Regions from separate parts of the Homo sapiens genome. Here region 2 is linked to region 1. The links are contacts of gene promoters, found by promoter capture Hi-C in human tissues and cell types (Jung and others, 2019). All regions are on one chromosome and are shown on one strand. The core of a region is centred on a gene start or on the middle of the fragment in contact, and the rest is flanking DNA. Distances in the headings are between cores, read along the strand shown.

Region 1 (2,700 bases), core at 136-2,635:
GAGGTCTGACCTCAGGCTCAGCATAGAAGCTGGGACCTCATGACTAACCCTTCCTGCCTCAGCCATCTGAACCAGACCAAGGGGGCTGTTTCTCAAACAGTATCTGGAAACCAGGGAGCCTTGTCAAGATGCAGAATGCAAGCCCCAGATGCAGATTCTGTGATATGGACGGGGTCCAAGCATCTATGTTTATTAAGCTGTTTGGGAGAGTCTGACCTGGGGGTTGGATGGCAACACCTTGAGAATCACTGATCCCGGAGTGATCCTGATTCCTCTCTAAGCAGAATCAAAGCTTCCAGGTTAAGGGTATCAAACACCCAAGCTGTAATACATCTTGGCTTAAGGGCCTGAGGATCCAGCTGTATCAGGATCAACAATATCGATTCAAAGGTCCCAAGCTGTCTTCCCTCAGGAACCAATCAACTCAGGGCCAAGAGCCACTGTCTCACCCCTAACTGGGTCAAGGCTCTAGGGCTCAGGAGTTTTGACATCAACAGGTGCTGTCTCAGCTTCTAAGCTGGACTCAGAACCTGAGGATCCTTGGGCTCACTTTGAGCCCCAGCATAAACTCCAGAGCCTAAGACTTCAAGTCCCTGTGTCAATCCCCAATCAGGGGTCAGTGGCTTAGTACCACAAGACCCCAAGACTGAGGATATTTGGATCCTGAGTCGTCCAGGAACCACAGCCCCATGTTAGGGTTTCACAGCCTCAGGACCCCAAGTGCCTGACTGCCTCGTGGTCCACCCAGAGGTCCTCAGGGGCTTCGGCACCACCAGTAACTACCTTAGCCTCCAGCCTGAGCCAGGACAGCCACGAAGCCTGCACCAGAGGCTGCATCCGGAACACCCCATGTACCTCTTCCCCGCCCCAAGCCTGACCTGGGCGGGCGCCCCCGGCCCCCGGTCCCCGGCCCCCGGCCCCGCGCACCTTCCACCACTGGGTAGGGCGCGCGTACGCGGCGTAGCGCGCGTAGCCTCCAGGTGACATGGTCAGACACGAGGTCGCGGAGCGCGTGGCACACCCGCGACAGGACGTGGAGCACGAGGCGGGCGTCCAGGTAGGAGCAGATCTCGAGCAGCAGCTCCGGGGGAAGGCTCAGAAGGCCCGGCTCACTTACGGCCGAAACCCTGGACGCGGCCCGAGGCTCCGAAGCGCTCGGGGACGCGGCGGGTGTGGATAGCTGCGAGGGGCGCGAGAACGCCAGCCCGGATTTTGGCGGACTGAGAACGCGGGCCACGTAGGCCTTGGCCTGCGCGTCTGGGTCTGTCTCTGACTCTGGGTCCGAGTCATCGTCCCAGGTGCGGGAATCATCGCACCGCCCTAGGGGAAGCTCCATTGCGACCGGGTGGGCGCTGCCGGCCTCGCGTCTTGTCTCCTAGGCAGCACGAGGGCACTTCCGGCGCTGTCTGATGACGTTTATGCGCCCACCGGAAGCGACGAAGTCAGACACTGGCTTAATACAGAACATCGCCCCGCTTACAGGGTCTCTTGCAACTGCGTCGGCCTTAGGCTGGAAAATGCAGGTTCCTGTTTCTGCGCTTTTTAAACTAGCCGATACCGAGAGCCAGCCAACTCTAGCTAAAAACGAAACTCAAGCCAGGCGGGGTGGCGCGCGCCTGTAGTTCCAGATACTCAGGAAGGTGAAGGGGTAGGATCCCTTGAGTCCAGGAGTTCGAGACTGCAGTGAGCCATGGTTGTGCCACTGTACTCCAACCTGCGCAACATAGTGAGACCCTGTCTCTTTAAATTAGACATAAAATAAACACTGCTTTAACGAAGGCATCTGTTATATGTGACACTGAGCTTAGAAACCCAAAGGCCCCTTTCCGAGTTCAAGGAGTAGAGATTGGAACTCTTGCCTCTTTTCCCAGAGCCAGAAATATGCAGTTACACTGCAGAGGCATCAGTTAAGTGACTTTTTTTTTTTTTTTTTTTTTTTTTGAGAAAGGAACTGGGGCCTCAGAACTACCTCTCCAGACCCCATTCCCCAACCCAACCTTGGAGGACAGCAGTTCAGTCCTCCAAGCGGAGTGCTTGGCTCATTGCAACCTCCGCTTTCTGGACTCAAGTGATCCTCCACCTCGGCCCCCCAGGTAGCTGGGACTACAGGCGCGCACCACCACACCCGGCTAATTTTTGTATTCTTTTGTAAAGACAGGGTTTCACTACGTTGTCCAGGCTGGTCTGGAACTCCTGAGCTCAAGCCATCCGCCCCCAACTTGGTCTCCCAAAGTACCAGGATTACAGGCGTGAACCATCGCGCCTGGTGGAAAGCTACCTTTTTCTTTTTTCTGAGACGGAGTCTCACTCTGTCACCCAGGCTGGTGTGCAGTGGCGCGATCTCGGCTGGCTGCAACCTCCGCCTCCCGGGTTCAAGCGATTCTCCTGCCTCAGCCTCTAGAGTAGCTGGGAATACAGGCACGCGCCACCACTCCTGGCTAATTTTTGTATTTTTCAGTAGAGACGGGGTCGCACTATGTTGGCCAGGCTGGTCTCAAACTCCTGACCTCGTGATCCGCCCGCCTCAGCCTCCCGAAGTGATGGGATGACAGGCGTGAGCCACTGCGCCCGGCCTAACATCACACTTACTAAAACAGCATGTTGGCCGGGTGCGGTGGCTCAGGCCTGTAATCCCACCACTTCGAGAGGCAAGGTGGGTTAATCACTTGAGGTCAGGAGTTCAAGACCAGCCTGGCCAAC
Region 2 (2,700 bases), core at 200-2,699, 510 kb before region 1:
TTTGAGACACAGTCTGGCTCCAGGCTGGAGTTCAGTGGCACAATCACGTCTCACTGCAACCTCCACCTCCCCGGTTCAAGCAATCCTCCCACCTCAGCCTCCTGAGCAGCTAGAACCATAGGTGCAGGCTACACGACTGGCTAATTTTTTGTAGAGATAGGGTTTCACCATGTTGCCCAGGCTGGTCTCAATCTCCTGAGCTCAAGTGATCCTCCTACCTTGGCCTCCCGAAGTGCTGGGATTTTAGGCGTGAGCCACCACTCCCAGCTCCTTTTTTGTGATTTCAAATAGAATCCTAGAGTGTAGCCTTGAGAAGGCTACAGGGAGAAAAAGCTCAGAGAAATAGGGAGAATCACTCTTCATTATGGCTTCACATAACTGAATCTATCTATCTATCTATCTATCTATCTATCTATCTATCTATCTATCTATCTATCTATGTTTATCTTGAGACAGGGTCTTCCTCTTTTGCCCAGGTTGGAGTGCATTGGCACCCATCATAGCTTGCTGCATTCTCATACTCCTGGTCTCAAGCAGTCCTCTCACCTCAGCCTCCTGAGTAGCTGGGACTACAGGCGTGCACCACCACTGCTGGCTAATTTTTAAATTTTTCTGTAGAGATGGAGGTTCTCACTGTGTTGCCTAAACTGATGTTGAATTCCTGGGCTCAAACAATCCTTCTGCCTCAACCTCCCAATGTGATGGAATTACAGGTGTGAGCCAGTTCACCCGGCCACTGATACATTTTGATGAGAAAGTAGGTAGATAAATTGGTGAATTCACCAATTTATTTTCACCAATTTAGTGAAGATTCATCAAGCTGGGTGTGGTGGCTCACGCCTGTAATCCCAGCACTTCGGGAGGCCAAGGCTGGCAGATACTTGCGGTCAGGAGTTTGGGTCCAGCCTGGCCAACATGGTGAAACCCCATCTCTATTAAACATACAAAAATTAGCTGGGTGTGGTGGCACGTGCCTGTACTCCCACCTCCTCGGGAGGTTGAGGCGGGATAATCCCTTGAGCCTGGGAGGCAGAGGTTGCAGTGACCCAAGACCCTGCCACTGCACTCCAGCCTGGGCGACAGAGCAAGACTCCATCCAAAAAAAAAAAGAGGGCTGGGTGTGGTGGCTCACGCCTGTAATCCCAGCACTTTGGGAGGCCGAGGTGGGCAGATCACGAGGTCAGGAGATTGAGACCATCCTGGCTAACATGGTGAAACCCTGTCTGTACTAAAAAATACAAAAAATTAGTCAGGCGTGGTGGCAGGTGCCTGTAGTCCCAGCTACTCAGGAGGCTGAGGCAGGAGAATGGCATGAACCCGGGAAGCGGAGCTTGCAGTGAGCCGAGATCACGCCGCTCCAGCCTGGGCAACAGAGAGCCAGACTCCGTCTAAAAAAAAAAAAAAAAAGGTAAAAAATCCTTCATTAGTCTCATTTAGTACTTAATTATATTTGATCTGCAGGATAGGTACAAGCTTGCAAGTATTCTCTCTTAGTATAATAACAGAAGATGGGCTTAATTTTCCCAGTAACCAATTGTGAGAACACATGCGAAATGCTTCCTGGAGTGTTTCTGGGGGCTCATCAGGTGGGCACTATGTGTTGCGCGTGTAACAAATTCCCAAACTCTCAGAAGGTGGGACGCCAGAAATTTTCATATTTTTTCCATAAAGAGTTTAGGCACCGAGCTACTCTTACATAGGTCATTGGGCTCCTTCCCCAAATCCGTTTCCCAGATACCAGGAATGGATGTGATGCAGGACAGGTGCGCCCTAAAATTGGGGCTTATCCCAGGATGGTTTCCAGCTTTGCCCAGGGAAGAATTCAAGGGCAGGCCAGTGGTGTTAGATAACAGTGTTTTATTTAACAGTACTGGTCTTTGTGGATCAGTGCTAACTCATAGGCAGTACACCCAGAGTCAGCAACATATGGTCTCTTGGCAACTATATTTATACCCACTTTCAATTATATGCAAATTAAGTGGTGGGTTATTTAAAACTTTCTAAGGAAGGAATGATAACTTTCAGGTCATTGCCATGGCATTTGTAAGCTGTCATAGCATTGGTGGGAGTGTTTTATGCTAATGAGCAGTGAGAGCATCTAGAGATCGCTGTTCTTGTCGTCTGCTGGTTTTGGCCCCTTTCTTTACTTTATCCTACCTGTGCCAGATCTTGTTTTGGCCAGTAGGGTTGTGATCAGAATACAAGTCCTGTTGGTCTCCTACCTCAGATGAATGTTGTGAGGAGTGAGGAGCCTTTTTTTAAGGGTAAGCAGTCTCAGGACTGCTAATATAAACTCTTTTGCATAGTAGGTGGTAGGACTTCGTTATGACAGGTTCTACAGGTCCACTGTATGAGCAGACATTAGCTGGGACTCAGGCAGCACGTATTACTCCTTGCAACCACCACCAAGAAAGATGATCAGACACTGCTATTGTTCTACCCGATAGTTCCATTCTAGTATGAGAGTTGCTGTGTGGAAGGAAGTGAGTATGATGACCAAACAGTGGAGTAAATGTTTGCAGACCCCTGAAACATGTGAACTTCTTATGAATTGAGTACAGCTCCCCAGCCCTGTCTGTCTCACCCATTCTCCTCTCCACATATGTGGGATGTTTCAGGACTCGGTGGCTTTTGAGGATGTAGATGTGAACTTCACCCAGGAGGAGTGGGCTTTGCTAGATCCTTCCCAGAAGAATCTCT

The links. Contacts are between HindIII fragments. The study calls those that stand out against the background at their distance.
Region 2: a fragment that was not itself captured here is called in contact with the fragment with the promoter of FBXW9 in region 1 in 1 of the 25 tissues and cell types used here (hippocampus).

The regions. Positions count from the first base shown.
Region 1 is chr19:12,695,246-12,697,945 of GRCh38, forward strand. FBXW9 (F-box and WD repeat domain containing 9) reads right to left here and starts at 1,386. Exons shown (of 10, transcript NM_032301.3): 1 at 928-1,386. The coding sequence starts at 1,336. RefSeq lists enhancers at 1,296-1,345, 1,656-1,715. The HindIII fragment of the contact is 8,232 bases long and covers 1-2,700 here.
Region 2 is chr19:12,183,167-12,185,866 of GRCh38, forward strand. ZNF136 (zinc finger protein 136) reads left to right here. Exons shown (of 4, transcript NM_003437.5): 2 at 2,619-2,700. Among named protein-coding and RNA genes, the nearest start is that of ZNF136, 21 kb to the left of the region's middle. The HindIII fragment of the contact is 4,023 bases long and covers 1-2,700 here.